Regions from separate parts of the Homo sapiens genome. Here region 2 is linked to region 1. The links are contacts of gene promoters, found by promoter capture Hi-C in blood cells and fetal thymus (Javierre and others, 2016). All regions are on one chromosome and are shown on one strand. The core of a region is centred on a gene start or on the middle of the fragment in contact, and the rest is flanking DNA. Distances in the headings are between cores, read along the strand shown.

Region 1 (5,946 bases), core at 2,471-4,970:
GCAGCCTCCACCTCCAGGTGCAGTCAAGCAATCCTCCCACCTCAACCTCCTGAGTAGCTGAAACCAAAGACATGTATCATCATGCACAGCTAATTTTTTTTTCTTTTCTTTTTTTCTTTCTTTTTTTTTTTAGAGATGGGTTCTCTCTATGTTGCCCAGGGTGGTCTGGAACTCTTGGGCTCAAGTGATCCTCCCGCCTTGACCTCCCAAAGTGCTGGGATTACAGGCGTGAGCCACCTTACCTGGCCAACATCTCCTTTTGAATAAAGTGAGCGAAACTCACAAAACATGAGATAACACGAAAACATATAAAACTCTTAGAAAATTCCTTATCAGCAGAAATACAATCATTTAACAGAAGTAACAATCTTAAATTATCAGGCAAAAAAAAAAATTTAGAAGCACAAGAAAATATGGTGTGTTATCTAAAGAAAGACAGAATTAATACTTTCAATTCTTTTTCTTTTTTTTTTTTTTATTTTTAATGCTTTCAGTTCTGCCCAGCATTAAAGGAGAAAGTTATTCACATGAGACACTGGGCCAAACCAAGAGTTTGCACGTTAATTTATGGGAGTAACACAATATTTCTATTTCAAAATACTATCTTTTTATAAATACAAAAGCACATAAAGATGTGCTATACTTTTCCCTACCCTGTAATAAAAAAAAGTGACATATAAGTGAACACTTGCCTTAAGATAGACACTATCAGTCCAAAATTCTACGCCTCTATTATTTAGTACTTACATAATTCTTAACATGCAATTAATTATACTCAAAGCTAAGATGTTCATTCCAACTAAATTTCAAAATTTAAGTAAGCACACCTATACTCCTATCAAAATTAATTTCTCACAGTAGCACTACAAAAGGGGAGTATGTTTCAGAAAGCATTTTAAATTTTTACATGAGGTCATGAAGTTAGATTTTTCTCACAAAAATTTTCAACTTATATTACATGAGAAATGTTAAGACTCAAATATTCAAACAAAATCAGTTGTGAATATTCAATCTCATATTTTAAGAAAAATTTAGTTTCACAAAACAATTTTATTAGTATTTTCATTGTAAGAGCAAATTAAAAAAGAAGCATTCTATTAGTTTTGAAACATAAAACTATTAGAGCAGTTATTTAAAAATAAACGTTTCTCACTTCAGTGCTCGGTTCGAAATCAGGGTGTGTGAAGGGTCCAGATCGCTCGAGGAACTTCTTTACATGGTTCCAGCGACCTTCCCAGTCTCCAGTGTCCCCACACCCACCATCAACAGCCATTCTGCACAGAACACAGTAAATTCAGCTGCAAAGATCAGTATGAAAAAAACCACACCTACAACTATTATGGTATCCCCAAATGAAAAGGTAACCACACCAGACCTGCTCAAATAAAAAGGAAAATATTCAATGTGATTATGTTTATGCTTTGAAATTTTTTCTTGCCTATTATACAATTCATTTAAAGTTAAGAACTGCACGTTTCTATTTTTATTTCACCCAATGGATGAAATAAATCAGTCTACATGTTTTTGGTTTCCTAAAGCAATCCAAGGTTCAACTTAGGATATTGGTCTATTATGTGAGAAATTGACTTCTCTACATTTGGTATTTACAAAAAAAACACTGCAAGCTTCCTCAATCTGTTGTTTCATCACACTTGCATTAGGAAATATGAGATACAACAGAGAAAAAAAGTCACACTTTCAGAATTCTGATGCTTATATGTCTGATGCAAATTTAATATTTATGTGTCCTTTCCAAAGGTGTAATCTAAAAATCACTTTGATGAGAGGAATTTTCACACACTTTTCTCAGAAATAAGGTTATTTTTTCTTTTTCTTTTTCTTTTTTTGTGACAGAGTCTCACTGTGTTGCCCAGGCTGGAGTGCAGTGGTGTGACTGCAGCTCACTGCAGCCTTGCCCTCCTGGGCTCAAGTGATTCTCCTGCCTCAGCCTCCCAAGTAGCTGTGCCTACAGGTACATGCCACCATACCCAGCCAATTTTTGTATTTTTAGTAGAGACGGGTTTCGCCATGTTGCACAGGCTGGTCTGAAACTCCTGAGCTCAAGTAATCCGTCCACCTCGGCCTCCCAAAGTGCTGGGATTACAGGCATGAGCCACCGAACCTGGCAGAGGTCTTAATTTTTTAAAGAATCTCTTAATGCTGTGGGACGGCTTTTCTTGCCACTAAACACAAAGTTTCAGATTACAATTACGCCACAGATAGACATCTACAAACCTTTTAGAACATACAACAGAATAAGGTGGGACTCCTCTACAAAATTCATCTATTTTATACTTAGTTAAGATTCACGTTTGGTTGTGATTATTTTTAATTTTCTAATTTCCTATAACTCCACAGTTTCTACCGTCAAATATATTAGTAATATCCAATTTTTACAAAAGGGACCAAGAAGTATTGCCTAGCAATAAAAACCATACGTTTTGATGTCAGAGTTGTGTTGGGTTCCACAATTAACAGCACTGTGACCTTGAGCAGATTACTTAATAGACATAAACCTCATCTGCAGGCCGTTCATAGCTACTTCTTTCAGCCATGAGGATATAGATAATCACACAGAAGACTCAGTACAGTACGTGGGATATGGTAAGCAATGTTTAATTGTGATTTCATGTAAAAGTGGGAGGGAAATAAAAGGCAGGAAAGAATGTGAAATTAAGTTTGTCATCCCGGTCCTCTTGCAGCTGAAATTCAACTGAGGGACACACATAAAGATCAAAGCACTGCTACTGGGAATCGGCACGGAAATTTACAAACTCACCATAACCAATGCAAGAGTATTTTTTCCCTGCCCAGGCAGGGAGGGGAGTAAATTATGTGGCGCTGGCCAGGTTAGAAAACACTTCGATTAAATCTGTCTCACCAGCATAGAATTAAGCATCTGATAAGAAATAGGGTGTGTAGTAAAAGGGATAAATAGGCTGTTTGAAGTCAACAACCTCTTTCCAGATCTTTTAAGAGCCAATTATTCTGCCAAAATGACTGGAGTGCTTAGTACAATACCTGACATGTAGAGTTATCATTAAAAGTTTGCAATTAGTACTACTGTCTCAGTGTTTGCAAAAGGCCACAAAACGGTCTTGTGTCCTTTTCCTGTGTGTTTAAGGTAGATTGCCTTTTCACAGGGTCACTGCTCTGACAATTTGGGATGGAGGAAGAGGAGTGCACAAGGGTCCTTCCTCAAGACCTTTACGTCAAGCACCCCGGAGGGCCCCTGCAGGAGCTGGGGCAGTACAGCCTGGCCCCGACGCCCGCACCGGGCAGATACCGGGAGCGGCCCGCCAGGCCCCCGGGGCTGCGGGGCGGGGATCAGGGGATGAGGCAGCGCGGCCTGCGCTCCGGGTGTCCCCCTCCCAGCCCCCCGGGCCCGCTGCGGCTGGTCCCCTAGGCCTGGGGTGGGGGGAGGCGGGGGTCCCCGGAGAGGGCCCCGGCCTCCCGGCAGCACTAACTTCTCAGCCAGCAGCTCCTCTATTCTCCTTCTTTTCTTCTCCCTAAAAGAGAGAATAAAAGAAGGGTCAGCATCGCGCTACACACTGGGCGCCGCGAGGGGAGGGGGGCGAGGGGACGGGGCGGGGGGTGTGGGGACCCCGGGTGGCGGCGGCAACCGCCCACCGCCGCGCTCTCTCACAACCCAGCCCAGCCCGGCGCGTCTGCAGAGCCCCGGTACTTACGGCTCCTCGCCATCCGCCATATTGTTCTCCGCCTCTTCCCAGGTGCCCACGCGCGGCAGGGCGGGGAGGAGCGGGACTGGCAAAGCGGGGAGGGGCGGGGCTGGCGAAGCGGGGAGGGGCGAGGCCAGAAACACAACCGGCAGGGAGGTGCGAGGTTGACTGCGGCTGGGCTCCCATGGGCTTTAAAGTCTTGCCCTGTAATTATAATCTTAATTACCTACGCTTAATTAGGTGAATCTTATACCGTGCATAATGTTGCTCTGCAGCGTGAAAATGTAGACAATACATTATGCGTTTACACAAACTATATGTTAATACGTAATTATACAAAATATTGGTATATTCTATGAAAAATTCGTGAAGAACCCTCCCAGTATGCCAGAGCTTTCCTCTGGGGGCAAAGATCAAGGAAATTTTCACTTTCTGCTTTTCAGGATGGTTCCAAAGTCTTTGCCTTTATAAGTACTCACTTGAATAATAAATTTATCTAAATCCGTTTACATTGGTGGGGTGGGAGATTATTATTTTCTTTGAACAAATCAGCATTAATATTTTCATGTCACATTCTGTTAGATAAGTTCAGCGGAAACAAAATGATTAAAACTTTTCCTGAGATAAATGTGTATATTTAGATACAAAGAAAAAAGTATAAAGGAAAACAATCACAAAAATCAAAGAATAACTGAGAACACCCATAATCCTATCACCTAAAGATAAATTGTGATAAAAGTTTCAATTATTTTCTTCTAGAGTCAGAAATACAAATATACACTGTGAATCTGGATGGCTGGATAGAGGGAAATGATCATGTTCAAAAATGTATGTATATACACGTACACACACATCTCCTTCTATGGAGTGGGACAAGAATGATATTTGGAATCAAAAGTAACTGATTTTAAATTCTTCTCAGTTGTGAGCTACGAAACCCTTAGACACTTCTATTTCTTCATTTATAAAGTGGGCATAACACTATTCACCTTGTAAGACTGATAATTAAGTAAAATCCAGAGTGGCTCTCAAAATACAGTTCCTGATCAACATCACTTGGGAAGTTTTTTTTAACACAAATTTTCACCCCTCACCGCCCCCACCACGCTCCCCACCGCCCCCCCGCCACCCCACCCTTCAGCCTTCTGCAAAGCCTGGGGTGATTCTCCACTGGTAAAGTTTGAGGGCCACTGAAATGGAGTACATAAAGCCTGATGGGTACTCAGTAAATGTAGCTGCTGTTACTACACTGTGATATTTAACCTCCTCTTGTCCTAGTTTTCAGTGAACCTTAAGGAAAGCTTGTCCTTTATGGTCCCCCAATTAGGTTCAGTTCAATAGCATTCACTGAGCTGAAAGTCAATGCCAGGCAGTGAGCGTGGGAATAGAGTTCACAGTCCCTATCAAGAGATACCAGCCTCCTTCTGCATCACATGTCTCAGCGTCAACTATGAAACTACTTTTTCTTGCCCAGACAACTCCACAGATGGTTTCACTGAGGATTTAACCTCAGTGCTTATCAAAATGGGCTCCTGTAGCCTGAACCCCCAACAATACTGGATACCCTTTGATTAGTGGTAGTGAGCATTGCAACCCTCTCAGATAGTGAAAAGCAGCAGTCACCTTAAAGGCCACCTAGTCCAGTCTCACCCATTTCACAGGGGAGGAAACTGAGGCCTAGGGATAGAGTACAGCTAGCCGATGAAGAAGTCTGCAAAGGTATCTGGCCCTGCATCTGCTTGCTTTGAGACTAACAGCCTGACTCACCATGGTGGTATTTTGATAAACGACACCAGGCACTCTCACTGGCTTAGATTGATTGACGGATTAGAAATAGCCATCTGCCCTTGCCAGGAATGAAAGCAACAGAGACATGCAAGCAAAACCTTCAACAGATTTATTTTACTTCAAATGGAACATATCATAAACAATTAGACTATCTGCTATGGTTTTTAAACAGACAGATAGTCTGAATGGTCCTATCTAGACACACCAGTCCCATTATAAAAGCCCCATCAAGCAGGGCTCGGCTTCCCACACCTGTAGTCCCGGCTACTTGGGAGGCTGAGGTGGGAGGACTGTTTGAGCCCAGGAGTTTAAAACCAGCCTGGGCAACATAGTGAGACCCTGTCTCTAAAAATAATAATAAATTAAAGCTCCAGAAAGACCTCTACAGTGAATCTGACCCCTCCCTCCCCGGAATGAACACTAACAAAGAGCTGCTACTAATAGCATTTCAAACAGTTACTGGAAAAAAGTAATGACT
Region 2 (5,479 bases), core at 2,362-4,861, 690 kb after region 1:
CGGAGTGTGGCTGGAGCACCAGGGAGTGCGGCCAGCTTCATACAGAGGAATAGTGCTCTGGCTGCCAAATGAAGAATGGGTTGGAGGGTGGCCAGGGCTGGTGTCACAGAGGCCAGTTAGGATGGTTCCAGCTGAACTGTCTTTGTGAGGAACGATGATACACATGCATCGTTCAGCCCTGAAGATAGGTTGTGATTGCAAGAGGGTAAAAACCTTGTTAAAGATTTCAAGGACAGTGAGGACAAAAGTAAGGCTATATGTAAACTGCTTACTGCTGACAATAAAGTGACTGCTTGTTCATTTCTTTATCATGTAGGTGGATGCCTGTTCTGTACCAAGCACCTGGAAAATACAATCATGTGTAAAGTAGACATGGTCTCTGCCCACAATCAAGCAAAAAGAAAATGATTGATTACTAAGTAGTCTTTATAAGGTGCATGAGCAAAATTCTTAGGGTCCATGCTCTCCACAGATTCCCCTCCTTTCCTGAAGTTAATTTATAGTCTGACAACATGTTCTCTGCTTTCTATAGGAAATTTTGGAGGATAAAGTTAGATAAGAAGATAAACCTCAAGGTCTGTGCCTTATATGGAGCATGCTTGCATGTACACACACAGACACATGCTCACATACACACCTTCCTCCCCTAATAAAAGACACCTGTCTTCACTCCATAGATTGACAAGCATCTAGAATAAGGCATATGAGGATTCCCATAAGTAAATCTGCTCCAAGAAAAGTTCTAGATATCTTCTCATATTTTCTGAACATGATATTTTACATGGAAGAATCCGGGCTGTTGAGTTCCTGATCCAAGAAGAAAAGTCTTCCATACATAATTTGGCTTTGGTGGCTGCTTCAGATTAGCCATTCTATCTGTGTTCCAGGTTATTACCGGTGTTTGGAATTCATGTGCAGAAGCAAGAATTTGCCTTGAGGCAGCAAGACTGGTAGACACTAGATAAGTGGCTTATTTTAAAGTGATGTTTTGGTACAGAAATGGCAGTAACAACAAATTCCTCCCCCTAATAGAAATCTTCCTCACATTCCCTATCCAACCCAGAATCATTTATAATAATGTGGAGTCAAAATTCAGCTGAATGGGTTTGATACAAATTCCTAGGAAGCCATTGTAAGTTCAAGCACTGTGTTTTAAAGATGAAGCATTCAAATTTATTAGGATGGTAATTGCAGCTGATGTAGGTGGGGAGGGCATGTGTCCCATTTTGCATGATTTGGAGAGGCAATAGCTTGTTGAGACTAAAACTCTGGAGTAGGACTGTTCTAGGTTTGAATCTCAGCTGCACTGATTGGTGGCTGTGTGAGTTTGGGCAAATCACTAAGATTCTCTCTTCACCTGTAAAATGAAGTAGTGGGTAAGCATGTAAGTCCTTTGTTAAATTTGCCAAGGTTTGAGTCTTTGTTGTACTACTGTATGACATTGAGCAACTTGTTCTCTTTATATCTTGGATTTCTTATCTGTAAAATAATAATAACAGTAATAATAACAATAATGATGATGATAATAATAATTATGGTCCCTACCTCATAAGGATGTGGCAAGAATTAAATGAGATTATGCACACATAGGGTTTTCATCTTGGTAGTCTGGCACCTAGTTAGCACTCATATCTTACTCAACTATTTTTCCTGCCATCATTATATTGAGCTTTCTAAAAATTATTATTTTTTGACTACTTATTTTGTTCTTTCTGAAAGTTAGGGCTTCACAAAGTGTAGTCGTTGCTATGTGATTTCTTTTTTTTTCCTTTTTGATACGGGGCCTTGCTGTGATGCCCAGGCTGGAGTACAGTGGCTATTCACAGGTGCAATCCTAGTACTAACCAGCACGGGAGTTTTGACCTGTTCCATTTCTAACCTGGGCTGGTTTACCCTTCTTTATGCACCTTGGTGGTCCCCTAGGAGGTCACCATATTGATGCCGAACTCATTGCACTCACCAGATCAGCAAAGTGCACTACAGCCCGGAACTCCTGGGCTCAACTGATCCTCCTGCCTCAGACTCCTGAATAGCTGGGACCACAGGCATGTGCCAGTGCCTTTTCTTTCTTTAAACTGGAGACTCAATAATGCAATTTCTGAATTTGGGGCAGAGTTGCCAGATAAAATCCAGAATGTCCAGTTAAATTTGGATTTCTGATACAGAATAATTGTTTACTATAACTTTGTTCTAGATATTTCATGGGATAGCGAGACTAAAAAATATTCTTTATTCATCTGAAATTCAATTCAACTGGGCATTCTGTATTTGCTAAATCTAGCAATGCTAGTTTGGTAGTAAAACATACTCCTTTGCCCTCTCATTCATTTTTTCACTCAGATAGATATTTGTGTATGCTTATAAAAATGCAGTGAACAACATCCTTGGGGCATAAGTATAGAAATAGTTTCATAAATTTGAAAAAAGATTTCTTAGTATCTCTGGTAAATCTACCTCCTAATTCCTTCTCCCTGTGTAAGCCATGGGACCATCAAATTGAGATTATGTTGATACTTGAGTATATAGTATGATGTTGCTTGAAAATTCTGAAATGTTCTAGTGTTGCTTTTACCTAAAGGGAATGATTAATGGTGACACATTAATGGGTATGCATTCCAGAGAATCCTGAAAGCTTTGTCATTTTTGAAGGAAATTACCTCATTACTTTTAGAGTCACCTATCCAGGGTAGGTTGGTCCCTGTGGTTGACCTGGTTTTCCAAGTAGGAAAATAAACACTTCAATGGTTAGGTTAATAACTTGGAGTGATTTTGTTGTACTTACAATTCAAGTTAATTTTTAAGTAGGATTGGTCTTTAAGCTACTAGACTAGTTGGAGACTCTGAGAGAATTGCATTCTAAGAGTGAGATCCTTTCAATTCAATCAGCATTTACTGTGTATTGACTGTGCAAAAGCAACTGCATATGAAGAGAGAGGAATTTAAAGTGTTTTGAGTTCCTGCTCTCAAAAACCTTAGTGTTTAATGGAGCACGAAAGCAAGAAGCAATTATGACAAAAGGCAAGATAAATAAGGTCAAAATTGAAGTCTAGTAAAGCTAGGTCCCAGGATGGTTGAATGTAGGAAGTGGTTAAATCTGGAGGCCAAGTAGAGTAGGAATGGCTTTTATTAGGACAGGTTTCTTTGAAGGTAATATGTGAGAGAACTATTCAAAGATAAGAATGATTTCATTTGGGAAATGAAATGTTCTAGGTGTGGGCTTAGCATTAACAAGTATCCGAAGGTGGCCACATTTTGAAATGCACGTGTTACTTAGACATGACAAAAATATATACAGCACCACCGTAACTGACAGCAACCGCTTCTCTCATGTGTGACTGTTTATGATCTAGAATTTCCAGATCAGAAACTTGATTTTATGTAGGTGGACCTGGATTCATTCCATGTTGGTTTCCTAAGTATTTATTGTGCACCTGCTGTTGCTATGTATGAGACAGCCAGAGAGACTTGGGCAACATTTAGGAATTCTTTTAGGTGGTCACTTAAACCAACTGAAAGTTACTCCGTTTAAACATGGGTTTTTTTTTTTTTCCTGAAATGAACACTTCCAGTGAGCTCTGATTTAAATTGGGCAAAATCAACAGCAAAAGAATTCCATGAGAAGCATCTTGTCAGGCGCTCTGACTTTGAGTATTTGCTTAAATGACTTTACAAGCCAGCTTAACTCATTTCCTGTTGGATGACACTTGTTTATTAAACTTGGCCCAAGTCAGAGTTAATAGCCTTAATGGTTTTGAATGGTCCCAAGTGATTCTCCAGCAGTGTGTCATTAGTGAACGGGGAGGATTCTACAGATAGGATGCAACACACACATAGCTGCTTCAGCCATCATAGATTTAAGAGAATACCTATAGCCCTCTTAAATTTAGCTAAGGAAATTGAGAATACTGGAAAGTAAGTGTTACCATTGCAGTAAATGCTAAAATATTTTTCAACAGTTCTAGTAGTTTTCCTTTTTTGTTTTTTTGAAATACTTCCATGTGAAATTAATGCCATTTAAAAATGGCACCAGCATTCAGAACTTGAATCATCCCAAATTCTCTAGCAAATGAATTAAAATGTGACATGGGGTTCATGTTGATTAACAGATGTGTGTAGAGAATTGGACTGGGTAGCCTGCCATCGCGATGCATGCTTGATGCATGAGAGGGATTGCTAAGATTGGGAATGGAAAACTTTTCTACTTTTCCATTTATGTGTGTGTTGGGCTATAAAGCTCTAAATTAGACTGGAAATTGGTGATGCATTTGGAGATCGTTGGTTTTTAATTTTCATCAATTAGGATTGATGTATGTCTTTTAAGTTTGGACAAGTTGTTCTTTGTGGATGATTTTGCTATTTCAGGTACTGGTGGGGTAAGAGTAGCCTGGATGCAAACCTTTATTGGGTTCTTAAACATGAAAGAGCATAAACTGCTTATGTTAGTTTGGGTCTGGTTGAATGTTATTAATTTTTTTTCCTTGATGGCCAGGCCAAATATTATGTAGTTTTAATATCTACCCTTGGTTCCTACTGCCTTATTTTTGGGCACTCTTAATATCTTCCTTTATATATCTGTCATTAAGTTATAATTGAAGCTTCATGTTTTATATTTAGAATGGTGCATGGAGGCTCAGCTGTGCCAGCCATTCAGGCCTAATGGCAAATGTTGGTTCATGCCAGAAAGTTTTTGGAGTCTAGTCTCTTTTTTGGGATGTCCAATCTAAGCAAACCATCCTTTTCTGTCTTAAGCTGAGGGGCACAGGGAAGCAATTTAGAAGTGATTTCCACTTCTGTGCATGTGACAGCATCTTGTTTCTGATAAAAATTATTTACTTGCTAGTTCACTCTTTAACCCAGAGAGTCATGCAGCCTTAAAAGGGATTGCTTTGACAAGTCTTTATGTCACTTCATTCCTTAGTTTACTGACTTCCATGCGGAGTATCAGTGAGTGTCAGTTAAAAGTGGGTACATAGTGATAGTAGATGACACCCATGCCACCAGCTGCTTCCTATGGGCTGCCAGATGCTAGCAAACGTTTCACAGCTCTTGAATTCTCTGGATTTGGGCCACTCTTGAACTCTATCCATCAATCCATACACCCACTTATTGAGCTAATATTTATTGAGGTTTTACTATGTTTCAGGAAGTTGTCTAGGTATGAGGAATACAGCAGGGCACCAAACTGTTGAAAATCTTTGTATTCATGGAACTTACATGGGCAAGCAGATGTAGAAATAAATATGTGAATGAGTAAAATGCATAATATGCTAAATGCTGGTAAGTGTTATAGAGAACGATAAAGCATGGCTGGGTTTGGGGTGACTTGTAATTTAAAACTGAGTGGACAAGGACTGCCTCACTGAGAAAATGACATTTGAGAAAAGACCCAAAGAAGATGAGGGAGTCATGCCAGTATTTGGGGGCAAAGCACAGCAGACAGAAGGAAGAGTAAGTACATAGTATCTGGACAGGAGTGAGT

What was found. Contacts are between HindIII fragments. The CHiCAGO score rates a contact against its expected background, and 5 or more counts as called.
Region 2: a contact is called between a fragment that was not itself captured here and the fragment with the promoter of UBA3 in region 1, in 1 of 17 cell types (M1 macrophages). The highest score is 5.1, in M1 macrophages.

Annotation. Positions count from the first base shown.
Region 1 is chr3:69,076,645-69,082,590 of GRCh38, forward strand. UBA3 (ubiquitin like modifier activating enzyme 3) reads right to left here and starts at 3,721. Exons shown (of 18, transcript NM_003968.4): 1 at 3,690-3,721; 2 at 3,468-3,509; 3 at 1,154-1,274. The coding sequence starts at 3,709. RefSeq lists silencers at 3,200-3,429, 3,550-3,639, 3,760-3,829 and an enhancer at 5,433-5,492. The HindIII fragment of the contact is 3,356 bases long and covers 1,624-4,979 here.
Region 2 is chr3:69,767,714-69,773,192 of GRCh38, forward strand. All of the region lies in intron 1 of MITF (melanocyte inducing transcription factor), which reads left to right. It also overlaps the pseudogene RN7SL418P. Among named protein-coding and RNA genes, the nearest start is that of MITF, 31 kb to the left of the region's middle. RefSeq lists an enhancer at 1,704-2,903. The HindIII fragment of the contact is 1,963 bases long and covers 2,631-4,593 here.